6 separate regions of the Homo sapiens genome follow, and all the other regions are linked to region 2. Evidence: promoter capture Hi-C in 16 types of primary human blood cells and fetal thymus (Javierre and others, 2016). All regions are on one chromosome and are shown on one strand. The core of a region is centred on a gene start or on the middle of the fragment in contact, and the rest is flanking DNA. Distances in the headings are between cores, read along the strand shown. Region 1 overlaps SENP7 (SUMO specific peptidase 7). Region 2 holds the start of TRMT10C (tRNA methyltransferase 10C, mitochondrial RNase P subunit). Region 3 overlaps SENP7 (SUMO specific peptidase 7). Region 4 overlaps SENP7 (SUMO specific peptidase 7). Region 5 overlaps SENP7 (SUMO specific peptidase 7). Region 6 overlaps SENP7 (SUMO specific peptidase 7).

Region 1 (3,860 bases), core at 359-2,858, 180 kb before region 2:
CCAAGACCATCTAGCTTTCCATGTGGGAGAAGGGAAATATCTAACTTCATTATATTCCAGGTATGCTGTTGCACCAAAGCATTCAGAAGAGAATGAGAAGCACTTGTAAAGTTAACAGGCCAAGGACAAAGGCTCATTAACGCCTGAGGTTGCAATTTTTTGAATTTTTGCAATCACAGCTTGGTGATAACCTTTAGCAGTAGGATATAAATAACTTCCACATGCCTAGCGTTCCAGTAATAGAACACTAAGCATAAATGGGTTAAAAGACTGAAACCTAACAGGACTACAGAATGCTTTTCTTCCTCTCACATCTTACCACCACATTCCTAAAGGTCTATTTACAGTAGTTGCTTTTATCTAGTACGTCATGTCCAACTATCCAAAAAAAAACAAAAAACAAAAAGAAAATTAAAAGCCACTCTAAAAGAAAAAAAACCACAGTTTGACAACAAGTATCAGAACCAGAACCAGACATGTCAGAGATGTTGAATTATCAGATTAGGAATTTAAAACAAATATGATCAACAGATAAAGTATACAGCATATAAGCACTTATGGGCAATGTTAGCAGAGAGAAAGTGTAATGAAGAATGAAAAAGAAATACTAAAGATCAAAACACTGTAACAGAAATGAACAATGCCTTGGATGGGCTCACTAGTAGACAGGATATGGAAAAGGAAAGAATCTCTGAACTTGAGTATATAGAAATAGAAAATTCCAACACAGGAAAGCAAAGAGAAAAAAAGACTAAAAAAACCCGTAACAGAATATTGAAGAAATGTGGGACAACTACAATAGGTGTAGCATAGGCATAATGGGAATATCATAAGAAGAAAGAGGTAAAGAAACAGAGGAAAAATGCAAAGCAATAATGCATGAGAATTTCCCCAAATTAATGTCAGACACCAAATCACAGACTGGCAAGTTCAGAGAACACCAAAGAGAATAAATGCCCAAAAAATAACACCTAGGCATATCATATTAAACTGCAAAAAAATCAAAGATTTAAAAACAGTTAATAAAATCCAGAAAAAAATAAGCCCTTAACTATAGAAAAACAAAGACAAGAATTGTATCTCATTTCTCAGAAACCATGCAAGTAAGAACACTGTGGAGTGAAATCTTTTAAGTGTTCAGAGAAAAAAAACCTACCAATAAATAAATAAAGTACAAAGTTGCAGGATTAATACTCTCTGATTTCAAAACTTTCTGTAAAGCTACGGTAATCAAAACAGTGTGGTACTAGTATAAAAACAGACACATAAACCAACAGAACAGAATAGAGATCCCAGAAATAAACCCTCAAATACATGGTCAAATGATTTTCAACAAGGGTACCAAGACCATTCAATGAGGAAAGGGCAGCCTTTTCAACAAATGATGCTGGAAAAACTGAATAGCCACATGCAAAACAATGAATCTGTACCCTTACCTAACACCATATACAATAATTAACACAAAATGGATCAGAGACCTAAGCATAAGGCATAAAGCTATTTTGAAAATTCTTGGAAGAAAACATAGGGGAAAATCTTCACATTAGATTTGTTAACATTTCTGAATATGACAACAAAAGCACAGTCAACTAAAGAAACAGATTACGTAGACTTCATCAGAGTAAAAAGGCAACCCACAGAATGAGACGAAATATTTGCAAATCCCATATCTATTAAGGGATCAGTATCCAGAATATATAAAGAAATCCTACAACTTACAAAAAAAATCCAATTCAAAAGCAGGCAAAGTACTTGAATAAACATTTCTCTAAAGAAGACATATAAATGGCCAACAACACGAAAAGATGTTCAATATCACTATTCATTAGGAAAATGAAAATCAAAATCACAATGAGATTCCACCTCACATGCATTAGGATGGTTATTATCAAAAAAACGAAAACAAGTATTGGCGAGATATGGAGTAACTGGAACCCTTGTGCACTGCTGGTGGCAATGTAACATGGTGCAGCCACTATGAATAATAGTATGATGTTTCCTCAAAAAGCTAAAAATAGATTGCCATATGATCCAGCACTTCTACTTCTGGATATATACCCAAAAGAACTTAAAGGAGAGATACAAACACACACTGAACACCCATGTTCATAATGGCATTACACACAATAGCCAAAATGTAGAAGCAACACCACTATCTATCAACAGATGAATAGAACAAAATTTAGTTGATACATAAAATGGAATATAGTCAGCCTTAAAAAGGAAGAACATTCTGACACATGCTGCAACATAGATGAACTTTTAAGACACTATGCTAAGCGAGATAAGTCAGTTAGCAAAGGACAAATACTGTGATTCCACTTATTTAAGGTACTTAGGGTCATGAAATAAATCATAGAAACTGAAAGTAGAATGGTGGCTGTCAGGGTTTAGGGGGAGAGAGGAATGAGGAGTTCCTGTTTCATAGATACAGAGTTTCAGTTTGGTAAAAATGAAAAAAGTTCTGAAAATGAATGGTGGTAATGGTTGTACAATAATGTGAATGTACTTAAAATAGATTAAAGTCCCTATTATTCAAAATGAGAACACAGATACTAATTAACTTTGGACTTTGATAGGTCTATCAAGTATATTATAATTTATAGAAAACTATTTAAAAATAGAAAGAGTCTAAATCTTCTAGAACGTAAAGCAAACCACCGCCCCCCCCCCCACACACACACACAAAACAAAACATAACTAATTTTTAAAATACAAGAATGGGTGGGGCACAGTGGTGCACACCTATAGTGTGCTACTTCGAAGGCTGACTTGAGGCCAGGAGTTCAAGGCTGTAGTGCACTATAATCATGCCTGTAAATAGCCACTGCACTCCAGCCTGGGCAACATAGCAAGACCTATCTCTAAAAAAAAAAAAAATACAAGAAAGGAAAAAAAGTCAAGCAGACCAAATAAAAAGCATAAAGAAAAATAGTAGTATAAAATATAAACAGACTATGCCTTATAGTTAAAAATAAATGTAGACTGAATGTAAAAAGAGAAGTATCCAGATACATACTATTTACTGGCAACACATATAAAATGAAAATGTCCAAAGGAGCATTGTTTATGAGAGAAAAAAAACTGGATACAATCCAAACTCCATCAATAAAAAGTAGGTAGATCTATTTTTAATATTAATACAATAAATACATAAGTAAAACTGGATGATCTCTAGCTCTATGCATCAACATGAATGAATCTCACAAAAATGTTAGGCAAAAAAAATGCATGCCATGTAATACATATTGTTCAGTAACCTGAATCATTTTTCTAAAGTTCACAATTATATAAAACTTAAAATTCAGAAAAGTGGTTAATTCTAAGGCGAATGCATGGGAATGGGACAGAATGGGCAAAGTGGGGAACACAGAAGGCTTCGGTGATGCTGATAATAGTCTATTTTTTAATAGAAGGTGAACATTTGGGTGTTTATTTTAACATTATGTTTTTTAACTTAAATGCATCTCATATATATTAGACCTGTGTTATAGTTCTACCTCTGCCACTTAATCTCTTTGAACCTCAAAAAGTTTCCACATTTATAAAATAGAAATATTAACTGCTCTCCTATCTATCTCATAGGCCTAAAGTAAAGATTAATATCAAAAGAGGATAGTGTGAAATGAATAAAAATAACACTATTTTTCATGATTATAATCATTTAATCCAGAAAAATATTTAGATGAAAGCATATCAAAATATTATCAATGCTTATTATTGAGGAATGGATTATGGGTAATATCAATTTCATACTTTTCTATATATCTCTTAATATAAATATGCATTATTGTTCAAATTAGGAAAAAGTTTAAATGTTTACATAAATTACATATAGATAATAATGAAATATTATTTTG
Region 2 (4,125 bases), core at 933-3,432:
GGCTCACGCCTGTAATCCCAGCACTGTGGGAGTCCGAGGCGGGCGGATCACGAGGTCAGGAGATCGAGACCATCCTGGCTAACACGGTGAAACCCTGTCTCTACTAAAAATACAAAAAATTAGCCGGGCGCGGTGGCGGGCGCCTGTAGTCCCAGCCACTCGGGGGCTGAGGCAGGAGAATGGCGTAAACCCGGGAGGCGGAGCTTGCAATGAGCCGAGATCGCGCCACTGCACTCTGGCCTGGGTGAAAGAGCGAGACTCCGTCTCAAAAAAAAAAAACAAAAAAACGTATTTTGAAAATCACTGTGCTTTTTGTTGGAGGTAAGATGTCTGAAACCTGGAAATATTCTTAATCTAGAATAGGTCAGATCCCAGACATATTGAATAAATTATGTTCTGCTATATTTATAGAAACACTTCCAAAGATTTTTCACATAAAGAATCTTAGTAAACTTAACAGAATGAAATTTCCTTTACTTGACAAAGATCATATAGCAAAAACCTTCATAAAATATTAATGGAAAAACTTCAGATGTATCTCTTTAAAGAACAGGAACAAGAAAAAATAACCTCTACACTGCTATTTGTTATAACTACTAGACGATATTTATTCTTGATTTTTTTCCATGTTTGGGAGTAAACTCATGATTATTTTGCTATCACCACCTCACCTTTCTAACATGATAGTAATCAGTCTCTTAGACAAGATCTCGTTTTTTAAAATCATTTGGAAAAGACTATGCCTACCTTCTTTTATTTTAGTAAACTATATACAATATAAACATTTCCATTTTAGTCATTTTCAAGTGTACAGTTCAATGGCATTAAGTACATTCACGTTCTTGTACAACCATCACTACTATCCATCTCCAGAACTTTTTCATCATCCCATACTGAAAATTCATACCTATTAAACAGTAACTGCCCATTCTTCCCTTTCCCCAGCCCCTGGTAAACACTATTCTACTTTCTTTCTTTATGATTTGACTATTCTAGGCACTTCATATAGGTGGACTTATACAATATTTGTCCTTTTGTGCCTGGCTTATCTCAGTGTATAATGCCTCCAAAGTTTATCCATGTTGTACCATGTATCAGAACTTCATTCCTTTTTAAGACTGAATAATATTCCATTGTATGTACATGCAACATTTTTTAATCTATTCATCTGTTCATGGATATTTGGGTTGCTTCCACCTTTTGGTTATTATCAATAATGCTACAATGACATTAGAGTACAAGTGTCTGTTTGTGTCTCTGCTTTCAATTTCTTTGGGTATATTACTAGGAGTAGAATGGCTGCAGAATATGTTCATTCTGTGTTTGGTTACAAATATATGTGGAGGCTGAATTGGCCCCAAAGGCCACCAATTTACAAATGTGTTTTAATTTCATTTCACATTAAACTTTCCAAATGAGCTAGGAGGAGACAGAAACTTACCGTGGCTTATCACGTTCCAAGCATAGTGCCAGGTACTGGTGATAAACTGGTCAAAAAGATTAGGAGTTTAAAGTCCTAGCGTCAAGGAGTTTGAAGCTGAGTAAGAAGACGTGTGAAAAAAACATACTTTATTTTAGTACTCTGTCAGCAAATGTTTATAAATACAGGGCCCAAACAGAGAGTAGGTTGAAAAGAGGATTAGAAACAGTTTTTTTTTTTTTTTTTTTTTTTTTTTGAGACAGAGAGTCTTGCTCTGTCGCCCAGGCTGGAGTGCAGTGGCGCGATCTCAGCTCACCGCAACCTCCGCCTCCCAGGTTCAAGCGATTCTCCTGCCTCAGCCTCCCGAGCAACTGGGATTACAGGCGCGCGCCACCACACCTGGCTAATTTTTGTATTTTTAGTAGAGACGGGGTTTCACTATGTTGGCCAGGCTGGTCTCAAACTCCTGACCCCAAGTGATCCGCCCGCCTCGGCCGCCCAAAGCACTGGGATAACAGGCGTAAGCCAACTGGCCCGGCCCAGAAGAAGTTTTTAGGATATATGGAGGAAAACACAACACAACACAGCTACAACTCCGTGACAACTGAGAGCGTAGTCTTCGAGTACCCAGTTGCCTACTGACAGCCGTCTCCTCTAAGGCGCTTCTTTTAGCCAAGAAAGCGTTCTTTGCGTGCTGTGACGTAAAAAGCAGCGCCGGAAGGGAGAGGGCGGAACTTCCGGCTGAGCCCCAGCGACCGCTCTGGTCGGCTGTGTAGACTGTTGGGTAGGCTGCGTGCTAGCTTCGGCGCGGATCCCTGGGCGTCCGTACGTCGGAGTCCTTCGTCCTCCAGGGTCCCTGTTCTTTGCGCCAGCGGGAACCACTATCTCTGCACTCCTGGTAAGCGAGTTTCTTCTTTCGCCTAATGTGTGTGTTGGGGGTGGGAGGACGCCGGAGACGTTCCAAGATGCACTTAGTGGAGCATGTGCGTTCGGAAGGCCCACGGGTAAGAGGAAGCCCAGTGATTTTAATAAACTATAACTAGTACAGTACCTGAAACAAAATCAGTGGTTCCTGAAATGATGTACTTGATTGCTTTTTACAATTGGGGTTTTCATTTCTGTGGTATTCTAAGTCCTTGCCAGTTACAAGAATAAAACTTTTAAAACTCCTTCTGAAATCAATGTTTATTAGATTGGGGCCTGGGGACCCCAGTTAAATATTTCCGGGATTCTAAAGTAAATTGTTTTCTCTTTAAAGGGAGGCTGAGCCGGGCGCGGTGGCTCACGCCTGTAATCCCAGCACAATGAGAGGCCGAGGTGGGCGGATCACGAGGTCAGGAGATCCGAGACCATCCTGGCTAACACAGTGAAACCCCGTCTGTACTAAAAATACAAAATAGCCGGGCGTGGTGGCGGGTGCCTGTAGTCCCAGCTACTCGGGAGGCTGAGGCAGGAGAATGGCGTGAACCCTGGGAGGCGGAGCTTGCGCCGAGATCGCGCCACTATACTCCAGCCTGGAGTGACAGAGCGAGACTCCGTCTCAAAAAAAATAATAAAGGGAGGCTGAACTTTTTTTTTCTTTTTTTTTTTTTTAATGAAGGAAGCATCGATCTAGGGTATTAGAAAAATATTTGCGTGATTACTGTGAGCCAAATACTGTCAAGCATTGGATTCAATGTTAACATTATAGACAAAGTCCTTGTCCTCATGGACACTAGTTAGTCCTTACCATCTAGTGAGGCAAATAGATAACCAGGCAATTACAGTGCAGTGTTAGAAGTACTGTCATAGGCACCAGAGTGCTGTGAAAAGTAATGGTGGAATACTTGAAGTGTGAGGTGAAGAATAGCTAGAGATGCTGCTGACCTGGCCGCAATAAGCTTAGAAATATATGTTGGGAACAATACCAATGGATAGCAATATCCCTTGAAACAGAACATTGAAGGAGGATCAGATTGTGAAGCAAAGGTAGAGGGGTTATTTCGATTTGTTGCGTTTGAGGTGTTTTTTGTTTGTTTTTGTTGTTTTGAGACAGTCTTACTCTGTCGCTCACTGCAACAGATTTTGTTGCAAAATCTCGGCTCACTGCAACTTCCGCCCCCCTTATTCAAGCGATTCTTCTACATCAGCCTCACGAGTACCTGGGAAGTAGAAGAATCGCCCCACTTCAGCCTCACGAGTACCTGGGATTACAGGCATGCGCCACCACACCTGGCTAATTTTTGTATTTTTAGTAGAGACAGGGTTTCGCCATGTTGGTCAGGCTGGTCTCAAACTCCTGACCTCAAGCGATCCTCCCTCCTCGGCCTTCCAAAGTGCTGGGATTACAGGAGTGAGCCACTGCACCCGGCCTGCATTTGAGATGTCTTTCTAATGCATGGTCATTGAAGCCACAGAAGTAGGTCACATCTCAGAAGGGAAATGTATAGATTGAAAAAAAAGAATAGGATAGAATGCGGAGTTACATCCACCTTTAAGGGAGGGGCATCTGGACATCAGTGCACAGGTCAGAGAGCAGGAAACCTAGGAGCCTGTGCAGGGTCATTAAATGAAGCCAAGGGAAGAAGGAATTTTTCAAGTGTTTTATTTGCATTTTGTAAAAATTTGAATTCCCTTTATTTCTTTTCCTTCAAATTTGAGACAAGTTTTACATCTTTAAGCATCTTCAATATCTCATGGACATCCAGGCTTTTAGGATAAAACTG
Region 3 (4,321 bases), core at 892-3,391, 200 kb before region 2:
TGTGAGTGGGATTGCATTCCTGATTTGGCTCTTGGCTTTGTTGCTGTTGGTGTATATGAGTGCTAGTGATTTTTTTTTAATGTACTGCATTTTATTACATAAAAGTACAATTAGTAAAATAATATAGTAATTTATTTGAATATACTTTTAACTATAATTAATCATTCCTTCCTCTCACTATAATGTTGAAAAGTATTACTCTGAACACCTACCTTATACGTTACTTAATGTAAGTTAACTACAAAGAGCCTCTCCACTTACATTTTCATCATGCATCTCACATTTTAATCTCCTTATTCATTTATAGAAAAGGTCATAAATAATGCCCAACTAATAAAAAAGAATTTCTAATATCTCTGATGCAGCAACAATTGATCATATGCTTTCCCATGTGAATACAATAGGAATAAAATAACAGCATAAAGTAATTTGAAAGCTGTATTACATCATTATTCACTTTTCAAAAAAATTTTTTCAAGGAAACAAGTACATTTTCAATGTAATTACAATACTTCAAAAAATCTACTCCCTTTAAAGTTATATACAAATAATTTAACAACTTTAGTTGTAGATTAGTTTTTATACTCAACACTCTGATTTCGTGTAATGTCTGAAGTGTCAGTACCTTATTCTACTGTAAATTCTTTGATATTTACATAGAATCAATTTTGAATTAAATATTTTTTCATATTTACTGCATCGGCAAAAATATATTTTCATATAAACTCTGGTGTTTTCTAAGCAGTAATTTTTGAAAAAAAAAAGTGTTTCCAAATTCATTACATTTGCAGGACTCTTCTCCAATATAAATTCCCTGATGCTGAAAAAAGCTTGAGCAATTGCTTGAGGGTTTTCCTCTAGTACAAAATGTGTGCAATAAGATCTGTGATACAAGTAAAGGTACTACAACCCCCTTTATATTTGTAACGGTTGTCTTCAGAATAAATACTCTTCTTCACTTTAAAGGCTTATATTTTCTGAAAGAATTTTTGACAGTAATTGCACTTTTAATGCTTTTATTAACTATGAACATTCTTTTTTTTTTTGAGACAGAGTTTCGCTGTGTCACCCAGGCTGGAGTGCAATGGCGCAATCTCGGCTCACTGCAACCTCCGCCTCCTGGGTTCAAGCAATTCTCCTGCCTCAGCCTCCCAAGTAGGTGGGACAACAGGCATGCCCCACCATGCCCAGTCAATTTTTGCATTCTCAGTAGAGACAAGGTTTCACCATGTTGGTCAGGCTGGTCTCGCACTCCTGACCTCAGGTGATCCACCTACCTCAGCCTCCCAAAGTGCTGAGATTACAGGCGTGAGCCACCGCGAGGAGTGGCATTGCCTGGACACTGCACAGTGGAATTTATATAAGGATGTGATGTTAGAGAACTACAGAAACCTGTTCTTCCTTGGTATTGTTGTCTCTAAGCCAGACCTGATGACCTGTCTGGAACAAGGGAAAAAACCTTTGACTACGAAGAGACATAAGATGATTGCCAGACCCCCAGTTATATGTTCTCATTTTGCCCAAGATCTTTGGCCAGAGCAGAGCATAAAAGATTCTTTCCAAAAAGTGATACTGAGAAGATATGAAAAATGTGGACATGACAATTTACAGTTTAAAAAAAGCTGTAAAAGTGTGGATGAGTGTAAGGTGCACAAAAGCGGTTATAATGGACTTAACCAATGTTTGACAACTACCCAGAGAAAAATATTTCAATGTGATAAATATGTGAAAGTCTCTCATAAATTTTCAAAGTCAAACAGACATAAGACATACTGGAAAAAAAACTTTTAAATGTAAAGAATGAGGCAAAGCTTTTAACCAGTCCTCAACCCTTACTACACATAAGAAAGTTCATACTGGAGAGAAACGCTACAGATGTGAAGAATCTGGCAAAGCCTTTAAGCTGCCTCTAACCTTACTACACATAAGATAATTCACACTGGAGAGAAACCCTACAGATGTAGAGAACGTGGCAAAGCTTTTAACCACCCCTCACCCCTTTTTTCACATAAGAAAATTCTTATTGGAGAGAAACCATACAAGTGTGTTAAATGTGGCAAAGCCTTCATTTCATCCTCAACCCTTATTAAACATGAGATAATTCATAGAAACTCTACAAATGTGAAGAATGTGGCAAAATTTTAACTGTTCCTCAAACCCTACTAAACATAAGATAATTCATACTGGAGATATACCCTACAAATGTGATCAATGTGGCAAAACCTTCACCTGGTTTAGTCAAGCCTCACTAAACATAAGAGAACTCATACTAGAGAGAAACCTTACAAATGTGAAGAATGTGGCAAAGCTTTTAACTGGTCCTCAGCCCTTAATAAACATAAAATAATTCATATTGCACAGGAAACCTACAGAGTCAATAATGTGGCAAATCTTTTAAATGTTCCTCAACCCTTAATAAGCATAAGATAATTTATACTGGAGAGAAACCCTATAAATGTGATGAATGTGGGAAAACCTTTAACCAGCCCTCAACTCTTAGTAAATATGAGAATTTATATGGAACATAAACCCTACAAATATAAAGAATGTGACAAAGCTTTTTAAGGAAGTTCTCAACCCTTATTACACATAATTCATACTGGACAGAAACTCTACAAGTGTAAAGAACGTGGCAAAGCCTACAACAAATTCTCAATTCTTTTTTTTTCTTCTTTTTTTGAGACAGAGTTTTGCTCTTATCACCCAGGTTGGAGGGCAATGGCATGATTTCACCTCACTGCAACCTCCGCCTCCTGGGTTCAAGCCATTCTCCTGCCTCGGCCTCCCAAGTAGCTGGGATTGCAGGTGCCCACCACTATGCCTGGCTAATTTTTGTGTTTTTAGTAGAGAGGGGGTTTCACCTTGTTGGCCGTGCTAGTCTCAAACTCCTGACCTCAGATGATCCACTTGCCTCAGTCTCCTAAAGTGCTGGGATTACAGGCATGAGCCACCATGCCTAGTCATAAGTTCTCAATTCTTAAGAGACAAACGATAATTCATGCTGAAAAGGAACTCTACAAACCTGAAAGATGTGACAGTACTTGTACAAACACCTCCAACTTTGCAATACATTAAAAAAAAAAGTTATACTAGTGTGAAACCCTAGAAATGTATAAAACGTGACAAAGCCTTTATATGGTTGCCACACTTGATTGTAGGTAAGATAATTCATACTGGCAAAACTCCTACAAGTATAAAGAATGTGGCAAAACTTTTAATCTGTGCTTACACCTTATTTCACAGGAAAGCTATTACCCTTGAGAAAAATTGTCCACATATAAAGAATATGGAAAAGCCATTAATGCTAGTGATTTTTGTACACTGATTTTGTGTCCTAAAACTTTGCTGAAGTTGTTTATCAGCTGAAAGAGCTTTTGGGCTGAGATCCTATATCTAGAAAATTTATATATAATATATATAAATATATATATAGAATCCAGACATAGAATCATATCATCTGCAAACAGGGATAGTTTGACTTCCTCTCCTCCAATTTGAATGTACTTTCTTTCTTTCTCTTGCCTGATGGCCCTGGCCAGGACTTCTGACAATTAATTTTTAGGACCACTTTACAATGCTTACTGAATATTTGCAGTTCCCTACTGTTTGTAATAGTAAAATATTGGGACAATTTGAAATGACCAACAATTAAAAATTTTTAAAGACAACCCAAATATCCCAAAATAAGTAGAGGAATTAAATTAATGAAATTATGGTAAGTTACAAAATAGTACATATTATGTAATATCCCTTTGTTTTAATGTATCTATATATGTATGAAGAATATGCAACGATATATACTATACAGTGAATGGCAGTTGTCTCTAAATAGGCAAGATTATATGTGTTTGTAATATTGTTCCTTTACTAATTTGTTTGTGGTTTTTTGCTTGATCTTGGTTTTTGAGCATAACATGTCCACCTGACTGTGTAATAATATAATTAATATATTAATTAATAGAAATCCCATTGTTTAATATTTATATTGGATTTTCCTTCCCCCGGCTAATCATCACTCTCATATATTTAGGTTATCCAACTTTTTGCCATCAAAAAGAACTCAACAGAAATAACTGGGTAAACCTGAATTTAAAATAATAAAGTAAAATAGGGGAGAAAATCCTGAAAAATGAATAAAATTCCTTAAAGAAAAAGAATTGTAAAATCACCCCAGACATGCCAAAATCAGTTAAAACCAGTGGCCAAAAAAATGTTAATTTTAATTCATTCTTGAGCTTTCGAAGCAATGGTGACTGTATCACAAACTACTATTATTTGCAGTTCCCAGAATTTGGGATTAGGTCTTTGTCTGCATGGGTAC
Region 4 (4,401 bases), core at 46-2,545, 140 kb before region 2:
GAAAGTACTGGGAAATGTTTAATCAGAAGAGTGTCTATTTTACTACCTATGAAACAGTTTTAGGCACTTTTTGTTTGTTTGCTTAACAAACACAAGAATATTAAGAAACAGCAATATGTTCACATATTTTCAAGATAAAACGGGAACTCTCAAAAAAAAAAACCACTTGTTTGCAGCAGCCATTTGAGTGTATATCCCCAAACCATCTAGTGGGAAGAGGGTACAAGTTCCCAGGGTACTTCCATAGAACACTGAAAACTCCAAACATGTTGCACACACACAAAAAAAAATTAAGCTATTAGTTTTAAAATTATTAAAAAATAAATGACATCTCTATGGATCAATAATAATTCATTCTACAAGCACTTACTGAACATCTTCCAGCAAAACAACGATGCTAGTATAATCTGGAGTTTCAGCTACAAACAAAATAGTTGAGTTTTTGCCTTCATGGGGTGTACATTACAGAGAATAAACCAATTCATTATTTAATTAGAATTCTAATATGTGCTATGAAGAAGAAATACAGATGTTGCACTTCTTCTGAGCCAAGTTTCTGAGAATATGACCTTGAAGCTGAAGTCTCAAAGAAGGACAGGCACTATCCAAAGGAAACAAGTAAAAAATGGAGAAAGGTCCAAAAAACAGGACAAAATGCAAATGTTTTGAGTAAAGCTTCTTCAAAGAAATTAAAGGACTTACCTGACTCATGTACTTAGAATAAAGAGGTAATGTGTCTAAGAATGGGCAGTTAGGCAGGACTTAGCAAACCATATTAAGGATGTGAGACTTTATGTCAACAACAATGGAAATCCACTAGTCTTAATTAGGAAACACTGAGATCAGAGCTACACTTTTAAAAGATCATTTTGATGTTTATGAAGAATAAAATGGAAGTGCTAGGAATAATGAGGAATAAAAATTAATTTACGGAGATGATGACTTTATCAGAGGTAGTTTAGAAGAATGGTGGGAGCAGAAACCAGAATACAGTGGGATCAGCAAAGGGAAAGGAGCAAAGGGATATAGCAAATGAAAGTAGTTGAGAAATATGGTTGTGAAAGTGGAAAATAAGACAAGACCTGAAAATAGACATGAGAAGCAGGAAAGGGTTTTTAGTCAGTTACTGGTTGATTAGTTAAAGATAGGAAAGATTTGTGTAAGTTTAAATGCTTATGGGAAGCACGTAAGGGTTAAAGACACAGAAGGCAGGATAATTAACACAGTAAGTTTCCCAAGAAATTGCATTAAGTGCTAATATTTATTGAACATGTACTATATACCAGGCACTGTGCTAAGCATTTTACAATGATTTATTTCATTTAATCCTCACAACCACTCCATGAGGGGCTTACAAATTATTCTTCTCATGCAGCTGAGGAGACCAAGATAGGCTGATTAATATCTAAGTAAAACGAGTGAGTAGTGAAAATGCGATTCAGAACCACACACTCTCAAATTTCTTGCCAGCACTCTTAACTGCTTCACACTACACTGGTTTATGACAGGAGAAGAGGCATTCCAACCAAGACCTTCTCTTAAAAGTGATAGGAGGCCAGGCGCTGTGGCTCACGCCTGTAATCCCAGCACTTTGGGAGGCCAAGGCAGGTGGATCACGAGGTGAGGAGATCGAGACCATCCTGGCTAACATGGTGAAACCCCGTCTCTACTAAAAAATACAAAAAATTAGCCGGGCATGGTGGCGGGCACCTGTAGTCCCAGCTACTCAGGAGGCTGAGGCAAGAGAATGGCGTGAACCCAGGAGGCGGAGCTTGCAGTAAGCCGAGATTGCGCCACTGCACTCCAGCCTGGGCGACAGAGCGAGACTCCGTCTCAAAAAAAAAAAGTGATAGGAAAGATAAAGGAACATAGGTTTGAAAAAAGTTTTCAAATAATCCTTGTAGAGAGGGGGAACACAAGCTTACTAAAGAAACACACGTTGTCTTACAGTTAAGAAATCCCTGTGAGATTAACACATTTATAATGCCACAAATATCCTTTTTTCCTGCAAACAGATAATTGAGTTCACAGATGATTATTAATTGCAAAGAAGAAAAGGTGTCTTTACAATGAACAGATCTGGCAGGCACCATCTTATGCAAGTGATCAAACATAGGAGTACTAAGAGTGAAACAACCAGAAATTATGTTACCCCCTGATATGTGCAGTAAGAAGTACATGACATCAGGTATGAAATATTCCTGCCAAAAATGTAACCTGGACCTAATCATATGGGCAAGACCAATAAAATAATAAAAATATAGACTGTGAGGCATTCTACAGAACAACTGGTCTGGACTCCTCAAAACTCAATGTGATGGTTAAAAGGGAAAGGGCAGAGCAGGTGGGAACTCTTCTAGATTAAGAGACTAATGGGGTATAATAACCAAATACAATGCATGAACCTGAACTTGATTCTATTAGGTAGGTACAAAAGTAACTGCAGTTTTGGCCAAATAGATTTAAAAATAAATAAATAAAAGACATTTTGGGAATACTCGGGAAATTCTGATTGTGGACTTTATAGCAGATGATGATATGAAATTACTGTTAATTTTCTTGATAGTATATTATAATTGTTATGTAAGAGAATGTTATTGTTCTTAGGAAAAGCAAGCTGAAGTATCTGAAGATAAAATACCATGATGCCTGCAACTTACTCTCAAATGGTTCCCCAAAAAATGTATGTATATGTGCATGTATATATGTATATATGTGATGCCCATCTATATACATGCATAAAGAGACACCGAGAGACGGCAAATGTGCCAAAATGTTTAAAGACTACCAGTCTATTATTTATACATTTTACAACTGTACAATTTAAAATTCTAAATGACCAAATAAAAATGCAAACAAAACTTTAAGGAAATTTATTTTAAGGATAAAATGTAATTAAGTCTAATGGAAAAACTATATGACTTAGGTATTTGCTAAATTATTGAGGAAATTATTATCTCAATGGTAATTTTAATAATTTCAAATATGAGACTATTCAATGTTGGAAAAAGCCATTTTTCTATTCACTCAGACCAAATAAGAATTTATATTGGAAAATAACAAATCATTGGTAATTTTACTGATTATTCTAATAGTGAGGCTCTAAATGAGACGGACAATTTGGCTTCTCCGGGAAAATACTTATTTCACATTTGACTTTATTATAATTTGTCTGACTAAAAATATCCGGCAACAGAAGTCAGTAATCTTTTTCCCCCCAAACTAGTAAGGTGAAAAAATTCTAAACATCTACAACATTTAAGTGTCATAAGATTTCTCTGTATACCAGAAGAGAAACTTAAGAGTAAAGAACAACATTCAAACCAGGCAAAATAAAACCTAAATTTAGTATTTAGGGATATATACTTAGGTAACAATACTATCCAACAAAACTAAGAAAGTAATTACTTTGAAAGTTAGGTGAGTGGTTATCGTTAAAGCAGGGGTCCCCAGCCCCCAGACTGCCTTGTACCAGTCTGTGGTCTGTTAGGAACTGGGCCACACAGCAGGAGGTGAACGGTGGGTGAGCGAGCATTACCGCCTGAGCTCTGCCTCCTGTCAGATCAGCAGCAGCATTAGATTCGCATAGGAGCACGAACCCTATTGTGAACTTCACATGCGAGGGATCTAACTTGTGCACTCCTTATGAGAATCTAATGCCTGATGATCTGAGGTGGAACAGTTTCATGCCTAAACCACTCCCCACAACACCAACCCACCCCACTCTCAACCCCATCCGTGGAAAAATTGGCTTCCATGAAACCAGTCCCTGGTGCCAAAAAGGTTGGGGACTGCTGCTTTAAAGGGTTATCATTTGCAGGGGTTGAGAACTTCTGGGGCAGTTTTCTGTTTTGTACCTCAGTGGTGGTTAAAATCTACCTTATTAAAAATAGATTAAATTTAATGAATAATTCATTGAACTGTTTACCTTTTAGTCATTTTTTGTTAATTACATTATATTTCACAGCAAAAATGAAAAGTAAAAGGCAGCTAAACAGAGAACTCCACCTAACCCAACAATCTATATACTTAGGTAGGCTGGTTCCTGTTACTTGCCTAGGCTTTTTAGAACCATCCAACTGTCTATTTATAAAGTGTTCCTTTGAAAGCTCCAAACCATTATACTAATACTCACTTAATTTTTTATGAGGGGAAATGATCATTGATCCATATACTCAGATTCTTTAAAAAATCGCATTCCTAAAAAATAAGAAATATACTGTATCTTTTCTATTTTACATATGAGAAATTTTATAATTGTAGGAAGACCCAGCATAATCACAGCAGAAAAAAAATAACATGTTTGCCTATGAATAAAAAAAAATACACTGGTTTTCCAGAAAACCTCAATTTTTTAAAAATTTTTCAACAAAAGTAGTTTATCAATGAATACATAAACAT
Region 5 (4,122 bases), core at 1,600-4,099, 230 kb before region 2:
AATAACTATAAACAATAATGAAATGGACAGAATAAAGGCAGCAATTTATTAAATGCTTTTCAGATTCCAAAACTGGCTGTGCAACTTAGTATAAACACAGTTAAATCTACTTATTTTGCTTAGCTCCATCTGGGCATGATATAAAATACTGTCATTAAACCTTAACAGAATTCTCCAACTGTTATATCTGTCATTAGGGAGGTTTTAAAACTCAATGGGCTGAGTGTGGTGGCTCATGCCTGTGATTCCAGCTACTTAGGATGCTAAGGTAGGAGGATCACTTGAGATCAGGAGTTCAACACTAGCCTGGGCAACATAGCGAGACTCCTGTCACTAAAAATATAAAGAAAATTAGCCAGGGTGGTGACACACACCAATAATCAGTCCCAGCTACTTGGGGGATTGCTTAATCTCAGGAGTTTGAGGCTGTGATCACACCACTGCACTCTGGCCTCAGTAACAAGGGAAGACCCTATCTCTAAAAAATAAATTAATCAGTTAACTTAATTTAATTAAAAATCTTAATGGAGGAGGAAAAATGAGGCTTTTATTCTCAGATTCTTTAAAATAAAATTCATCTCCCTTCCTTTCATACACAAGGAAACTACAGGATGATGTTAAATGTACCTACCACTCATCCATCTTTCCTTTTATTTCTTCAACAAATATTTATTAGGTTCCTAAAAACAAATAATGAAAGTCACCTACACTGCCCTAGAAGTATTCATAATCTAATATGGGCAGAAAAAACTATAACAAATAACTAAAATGTGTCATAAGAGGTACAAAGGAATTATGGTAATGCAGCAGTCCCCAACCTTTTTGGCACCAGGGACTGGTTTTGTGGAAGACAATTTTTCCAGGGACAAGGTTAGGGGGGATGGTTTCAAGATGAAACTGTTCCTCCTCAGACCGTCAGGCATTAGTTAGATTCTCATAAGGAGCACGCAACCTAGATCCCTTGCACGCACTGTTCACAACAGGGTTCGCGCTCCTGTGAGTATCTAACGCTGCCACTGATCTGATAGGAGGCAGAGCTTAGGCAGTAATGCTCGCTCACTGCTGCTCACCTCCTGCTGAGTGGCCTGGCTCCTAACAGGCCACAGACTGGTACCAGTCTGAAGCCCAGGGGTTGGGGACCCCCTTATTAAACCATCTGAGACAGCCACCTTGAACAGGGTTGGCTTGCATACACACAAATACTAGTTTCTTTTCTTTACCTAATCAGGGGAGTTAAAAGAGAAGGATATAAAACCAAGTTTGACTGTCAAAAGAAAGGTTTTAGGAAGGAAGAAAATGACATTTAACAGGGGGATAAAGGTGGTATGTGACTTCTGGCTCAGTCCCTTGGATGGAACTCTTATTGCAGGAAAAAAAAAAGGCAAACCATTACATTCTTATATAATTTTTATCAAGTCATATAGGAAACTGAAATCATTGCCCCATCTTGTTCATTTGAATAATATCTAGCCAAAACTCTATGGGTAAACATCAGGAGTAACATAGGATCCAGAATGAGCTAAAAGATTTGACAGCAATTAGACACTATGTGGAAGATTAACCACATAAAAAAATCAAAGTCACGTTTATTGAATTTTCTCATTTCAAAAGGACCCAACCATTATAATCAGTATAAACAATTACTTTCAACTAGTGTATAGTCTGTTAATTTGTTTTCTATTTGAAAATCTTAAGGATAGACATCTGGTTTTATATTGGTATTTGGTCGATTTCCTGATTATGCTAACCTTATTTGATTGAGAATATATTAGACATAGAATGAGGCAAGGAGGATAGGAGAGAATATGAGGGCCAAACATAATCTCCTATTCTCAGTTCCTGTGTAGAAAATCTTCAACTAAATGTCTAACAGTTCTCTCAGTAATCAATAATAGGCACTGTTATCATCTCATATTTTGAGTTCCTAATATGTTCCAAGCACCGAGCAAGGTACTGAGGATAGAGTGGAAAATAAGACAGATAAAGTCCCTAACTTCATGTAGCTTCAAATGAGAAACAGAAAATGAAGACGTAAACAAACGAATAAAATGATTACAGATCACGCTGTGAAACAAATTTTTTAAATGCCAGGATAAGTTGTTTCAGGCAGAAAATAGGAAAGCGGTCAGCATATTTGAAAATGGAAATGAGGTAGGTTGAACTTAAGTATGGTAAATGAGAGGAAACAATATTATGAGATGAGTTTAAGGAGATGGAAAGAAACCAGATCTTTCAGGATCTCATAAAGCATGATAAGGAATCTGTAGCTTCTCAACACTAGTAGTTAGAGCCTTTTGATGTGGATTTATTGGCCATTAAAATTCATATCTCTTGCTGCTCTGATGACTTTTAAAAACTGATTTGTAGGGATTCTTTGTGTAAACACTAATGCTTGATCTGATATATCAAATTGTGTGAATGCTTAACAGACCAAGCATTAGTATTCACACATTCATGTGCATGTGTACATGTGTGTGTGTGTGTAGTATCTTATGCATCTTACCCTAGAGGATGCCACTCACGTAACTTTATTTTTATTATGTATATAATAATCAGGTACACAATATCTGTTTTTTGAAAAGCTTACTAATACAGCAGAATCTATCTACTTTCATTTCCTTAGTTTGAAGGTGAGTATACAAAATTCACAATCTCTACTTTGAATAATCTTGAAATAAAACATGAGATTAAGTGCATGGTACCAATCATTAAATTCTGTATACATAAAACAGAACAGGAGGGCATCAGAAATGTTACCTAATTTATTTAATAAATCTCCCCCTTCCATATATCCCTCTCCTAGCCCTGATTATCAGAAATATTTTCAAATTGCAGTTTTCTCCTTAACTGATCCTCGCAGGTCTTGTCCATCAGGACAAATTCCAAACCTGTAAAGACACTCAAAATGGAGTTAATCATACATCCCAGTTTGTCTAGAAAAGCCCTGGTATACGCACTCGTTGTCTAGTGTACCCACTAAGACAGCCTCCTATTATTCTCACAAGCATCCCAATTTAGACCATTAATTATATAATCACAACACTATGAACAACAGAAAGAGTTGAACTTTGAAACTGGAAAGCTATATCCAACTTTGAAAAACTCATATAACTTCCTTAAGCTTCAATTCATAAAGACAATGACAATAATACTGTAGAATCAAATAACTTTATGTTCACCGTCTTAGTTCCTAGCAGGCACTCAATAAATATTAATTAGTGTCCCTATTCCTACCCTCTTTCTCCAACAATATATCAAATTCAAGCAGTTTATCCATTAATCCTCTTCTAACTCTTGTTTATTACTCCTGTTATTTTAACGAGATGAAACAAACTCTCATAGCCATTTTTTAAAGCAATCTAGTACAATAAAAACTTTGGACTAGAAGTTAAAAGGTAAAGATTTAAGTACCAACTAGTTCTGCCACTCACTAGCTGTTCATCTTAAGTAAAATTTATTAATCTTCATTAGACTGCTTCCTCATATGAAAAATTGGGATACAGTTTATATGCCCTATCAAAAGGTACTGTCATGATAGGAAAAACTGAAATAATGTCAATAAATGGAGTTGTAAATTGTAAAGCAGTAGAGAAATGTTTACACTAACTTTTAAAATAACAATAACTCAGCTTTATCATGAGTCTACTCAGATAGATTATCATACAAATTGTTAAGTATGGGGAAAGGGGAGAAATGCCTCATGTTGCAACAACTATCCAAGTTTCTACTGTCTAAGAAATACCTCCTTTTTGCCTATCCCTAGCCACTGCTCCACAGTTTTAGTATTAACCAAAAAAATACTTGGGCAAAAATCAGCTAAATTGTGCAAACAAATAGGGTATTTCGTATAATGTAGCATAGGTTTAATTAAATAGTCTGTCATTGGGGATCCAACCAGGAAAACAAAAACAGCCCTATATAACAGATAGAATTCAATGCAGGAAATTGGCTATAGCATTGACAAAAAAAGAAAAACAAAAAAACACAAAGCCAAAAACGGGGACAGTGAGACAGCAAAGATTAGCAGAGGAGGAAACTGCTATACCTGTAGGGTAGAGGGCAAAGAGAGGAAGCAGTACCTCCAGATGAAAGCTGGAGTTATAGCAGGTCTGTCCTGTGAGA
Region 6 (4,114 bases), core at 636-3,135, 170 kb before region 2:
TTTTCCCTTACACTTAGCAATGCTGGGCACTGTTCACATACCTGTTTGTCATTTGTATGTCTTTTTTTGAGAAATGTCTTTTTATGTCACTTGCACACTTTTTAGTGGGATTATTTGTTTATTTTTACTGTTCAGTTGTTTGGATTCCTCATATATTCTGGGTATCAGTCCCTTCTTGGATGAATAGTTTACAAACATTTTCTCCCATTCTGGAAGTTGTCTCTTTACTCTGTTGATGGGTTGGCTCCTTAGCTGTGCAGAAGCCATTCAGCTTAATATAGTCTCATTTATGTATTTTTTGTTGTTGCCTGTGTGAGGTCTAAGTCAAAAAATCTTTGCCTAGACCAATGTCCACAAGCATGTCCCCTATGTTTTCTTCCAGCAGTTTTATAGTTTCAGGTCTTACGTTTAAAGTATTTAATTTATCTTGGGTTGATTTTTTATATGTGGTGAGAGACAGGGGTCTAGTTTCACTCTTCTGCATATTTTCCCAGGATCACTACTGAAGAGGGTGTCCTTTCCCCAGTGTATGTTCTTGGCACCTTTTGCTGAAAATCAGCTGGCTGTAAATATATGGATTTATTTATAGGTTCTCTGTTCTGTTCCGTTGGCCTATGGGTCTGTTTTTATACCATGCTGTTTTGGTTACTATAGCCTTGTAATATATTTTGAAGTCAGGTAGTGTAATGCCTCCAGTTTTATTCTTTTCACTCAGGACTGCTTTGGCTATTTGGGCTCTTTTTTAATTCCATATGATCTTAGGGTTAAGATTAACAAATTCATCTTAAGGGAAGAAAGAACTAAAGCTTGGTTTAAGGAGTTCAGTATTTGCTAAATTAAATGGGGAGGCTAACAAAGCCATAACAATTGCTTTGGCAGCAATGGTGATGACGATAAGTGGACTCAGGAACACATGTTGGCACCCTCATTGTAGAAGATTTCAGTAACATCAACTATAGTAATATCCTTTTATAATACTTCTGATATCAGCACCAATAAGAGAGACACAAAAATAATGACTAACTTTTAATAATCACCTACTAACTTCCTGGCATTATACTTGGGACTTTACATGGATCATCTCCTTATATCTGCACACTAACCCAATAAGGTGTGTATTATTATCCCTGCTTTAAAGACACGGTAAGAAACCTGTCCAAGGTAAGTCAGTGTATTAGCAGTATAGCTAATATCTTAATCCAGATGTCTGGCTCCAAAGTTCATGCTTATTCCAAATACATGAATCAAATAAAATTGTCACTAAGGGAATGAATTTTCAAGGTCCACATCAAAACCACCTGGAAATTCCACATCTATTTAGAAAGGATTTAAAGGAGAGCTAGTGTTCCCACTGAATAGTTTTGGGGAATGACCAGAAATATTATACCTATTAATATTATTAAACCTTAGCCCCAGAATGGCATAAAGGCAGAAGCGTACAGATTACAATTTGATTGTTTCATACAATCTTCAAAAGTGTGATTTTTCTTAACAACATAAATGTGCACTGACATCATCTGAGTTCCATGGGCAATGGCACATCATAAGTTTTTTCTTTTAATCTTTTTCTTTTTTTTTTGCTCATCATTTGACTTAAAGCTCAATCATCACAACTTTTTCTCCAACAGAAAGTACCTTCCTTAATATTTTCATTTATTTTATGGGCTCAAAGAATTCTCAGAAGTGAGATTTAAAAGAAAAGAAAAATAACATTTTTGTGAGGTACATAGGGCATTCAAAATTACTTCTCTGTTTACAACTCAGAAAACTGAATTTTACATTAAATGACATAAGCATTAACCCAAGAGCAAAAAATTTAGTATACATTGAGCTAAGTCCTAGGTATAAATGCAAATAAGACACAATACCTCTTCTTCTCAAGGAGCTCATGGTATAGCAGAGGAGGTGGAAATAAACAGCTATACTGCAACGTGGATAGGTACTTTTGTTGTTGTTGTTATTGTTTTTTGTGTGTTTTTTGAGATGAAATTTTGCTCTTGTTGCCCAGGCTGGAGTGCAATGGTGCGGTCTCAGCTCACTGCAACCTCCACCTCCTGGGTTCAAGCAATTCTCCTGCCTCAGCCTCCCAAGTGGTTGGGATTATAGGCCCCTGCCACCACGCCCAGCTAATTTTGTATTTTCGGTAGAGACAAGGTTTCACCATGTTGGTCAGGCTGGCCTCGAACTCCTGACCTCAGATGATCCACCCGCCTCAGCCTCCCAAAGTGCTGGGATTACAGGCGTGAGCCACCATACCCGGCTGTTGTTTTTGAGACAGAGTCTTGCCCTGTCACCCAGGCTAGGATGCAGTGGCTATCATAGCTCACTGCAATCTTGAATTCCTGGGCTCAAGCGATCCTCCCACCTCAGCCTCCCAAGTAGCTGAGACTACAAGCATGCACCATCACATCTGGCTCATTTTTTTCATTTTTAGCAGAAACAAGATCTCACTATGCCTCCTAGGCTGGTCTTGAACTCCTCGCCTCAAGTGATCCTCGTGCCTCAGCCTCCCAAAGGGCTAGGATTATAGGCATGAGCCACTTGATAGATACATAGGCATGAGCCACTTGATAGATACATTACTAATTTCCCCAATTACACATTAAATTTAGTAACTGAATAATGCCACTGAAATTCTCATTTTGGGGGGAAAACTTAGCAAGAGACCTAATAAAATATAAAGTTAAAATTGTCGTTACTGATTCACTAAGTAGAACCTAGGTGAAAATATTTTCCAAAAGAAGAAAAATTCAAGAATTCATAGAAAATAAAGAGTTTTAAATAATAAAATTTGTTGTAGATATTTAAAAAGGCAACTATAAGTACTATTTAATGTAATTAGGCTTACAATAGAAATACAAACCAGAAGTTAGCTTTGGATAGTTTGGGGGGAAAAAAATTAGGATAATCAACTTTTCATCTATATAAAAAGTATCCTACAGGCTGAACACAGAAAATAAAAAGAGAAGCTTCAGAAGCTTGTAGCAAATGGAAGTTTATAAATCTAACAGAATGTACTAACTGACCATCCCTAGCTTTGTGCCACAGATTTTTTCTTATTTCCAGTCCACACACAATCCTCTCCTAGAGCTTAAAACAAAGGCAACTTCAGATCTGCATTTCTCTTATTGGCACAACAAGCTACATTTGTCAATGGAATTCAGCTTTTCCATTTGTTAATGGAAAATCTCAAACCATTTTTTTAAGGAATGTGTTCAGCCATTCATTCAAAAACTATTTACTGAGCACTAAGTACTAGTTAAAATTCTAGAGTCTGAATATAAAAATAACGGACAAGGCCGGGGGCAGTGGCTCACGCCTGTAATGCCAGCCCTTTGGGAGGCTGAAGCAGGCAGATCACAAGGTCAGGAGATCGAGACCATCCTGGCTAACACGGTGAAACCCTGTCTCTACTAAAAAATACAAAAAATTAGCTGGGCGTGGTGGCACGTGCCTGTAGTCCCAGCTACTTGGGAGGCTGAGGTAGGAGAATCGCTTGAACCTGGGAGGCAGAGGTTGCAGTGAGCCGAGATCATGCCACTGCACTCCAGCCTGGGCGACAGAACGAGACTCCGCCTCAAAAAAATTAAAGTAAAACAAAATAACAGACAAGACTGAATGGGTAGATGGATAGATGGACAAATAGAACAGAAAAAGAGAGGGCAATAGACTAATGTCAGAGGAATGGATTTCAATTACACCAGACAAACTGGGATACTGAAATAGGTTACCAGATTTTCATTAAGTGTCTGTATCCATTTTTCCAAAATACAAGTATGGTGGCCAGTGCTTCTGAAACACATTATTAGCCATGGACTGTTGGTTCCAATAGCCATTCCAGCCACCCGGGGAGAAAAATAATACCAGCTATCAGAGCACATTTACCTCACATTTAGCAATAATGTATCTGTGAAAAAGAACAGGGAAGGATACATAAAAATAAATATAATTATTTTGAGTAAAGTTATCACTAAACATACCTTTCAGATAAATAACAGCTCTTGTGAGGGTTTAGATTTTGATAAGATTCTAGGCTGCCATCAGATGATGAAGAAAGTTGCTCTGATTGCAAGTTGTCTGTATCACTCAAACTTCCCTCAGTTACAGGTGGGGT

Evidence for each region. The method cuts DNA at HindIII sites, captures the fragments that hold promoters and counts their contacts. A CHiCAGO score of 5 or more calls a contact.
Region 1: a fragment that was not itself captured here is called in contact with the fragment with the promoter of TRMT10C in region 2 in 6 of 17 cell types (non-activated CD4 T cells, naive CD4 T cells, total CD4 T cells and 3 more); the score reaches 12.7 in non-activated CD4 T cells.
Region 3: a contact is called between a fragment that was not itself captured here and the fragment with the promoter of TRMT10C in region 2, in 1 of 17 cell types (non-activated CD4 T cells). The highest score is 5.6, in non-activated CD4 T cells.
Region 4: a contact is called between a fragment that was not itself captured here and the fragment with the promoter of TRMT10C in region 2, in 6 of 17 cell types (non-activated CD4 T cells, total CD8 T cells, activated CD4 T cells and 3 more). The highest score is 6.9, in non-activated CD4 T cells.
Region 5: a contact is called between a fragment that was not itself captured here and the fragment with the promoter of TRMT10C in region 2, in 3 of 17 cell types (total CD4 T cells, naive CD4 T cells and non-activated CD4 T cells). The highest score is 5.5, in total CD4 T cells.
Region 6: a fragment that was not itself captured here is called in contact with the fragment with the promoter of TRMT10C in region 2 in 6 of 17 cell types (non-activated CD4 T cells, naive CD4 T cells, total CD4 T cells and 3 more); the score reaches 12.5 in non-activated CD4 T cells.

Annotation. Positions count from the first base shown.
Region 1 is chr3:101,377,773-101,381,632 of GRCh38, forward strand. The region is part of intron 6 of SENP7 (SUMO specific peptidase 7); the gene reads right to left. Among named protein-coding and RNA genes, the nearest start is that of IMPG2, 59 kb to the left of the region's middle. The HindIII fragment of the contact is 5,077 bases long and covers 1-3,860 here.
Region 2 is chr3:101,559,686-101,563,810 of GRCh38, forward strand. TRMT10C (tRNA methyltransferase 10C, mitochondrial RNase P subunit) reads left to right here and starts at 2,183. Exons shown (of 2, transcript NM_017819.4): 1 at 2,183-2,318. RefSeq lists enhancers at 2,169-2,238, 2,249-2,318. The HindIII fragment of the contact is 12,384 bases long and covers 1-3,298 here.
Region 3 is chr3:101,355,973-101,360,293 of GRCh38, forward strand. The region is part of intron 11 of SENP7 (SUMO specific peptidase 7); the gene reads right to left. It also overlaps the pseudogene ZNF90P1. Among named protein-coding and RNA genes, the nearest start is that of IMPG2, 38 kb to the left of the region's middle. The HindIII fragment of the contact is 330 bases long and covers 1,977-2,306 here.
Region 4 is chr3:101,418,533-101,422,933 of GRCh38, forward strand. The region is part of intron 4 of SENP7 (SUMO specific peptidase 7); the gene reads right to left. Among named protein-coding and RNA genes, the nearest start is that of SENP7, 92 kb to the right of the region's middle. The HindIII fragment of the contact is 1,245 bases long and covers 674-1,918 here.
Region 5 is chr3:101,333,045-101,337,166 of GRCh38, forward strand. All of the region lies in intron 17 of SENP7 (SUMO specific peptidase 7), which reads right to left. Among named protein-coding and RNA genes, the nearest start is that of IMPG2, 15 kb to the left of the region's middle. The HindIII fragment of the contact is 539 bases long and covers 2,581-3,119 here.
Region 6 is chr3:101,394,881-101,398,994 of GRCh38, forward strand. SENP7 (SUMO specific peptidase 7) reads right to left here. Exons shown (of 24, transcript NM_020654.5): 6 at 3,981-4,114. Among named protein-coding and RNA genes, the nearest start is that of IMPG2, 76 kb to the left of the region's middle. The HindIII fragment of the contact is 2,163 bases long and covers 805-2,967 here.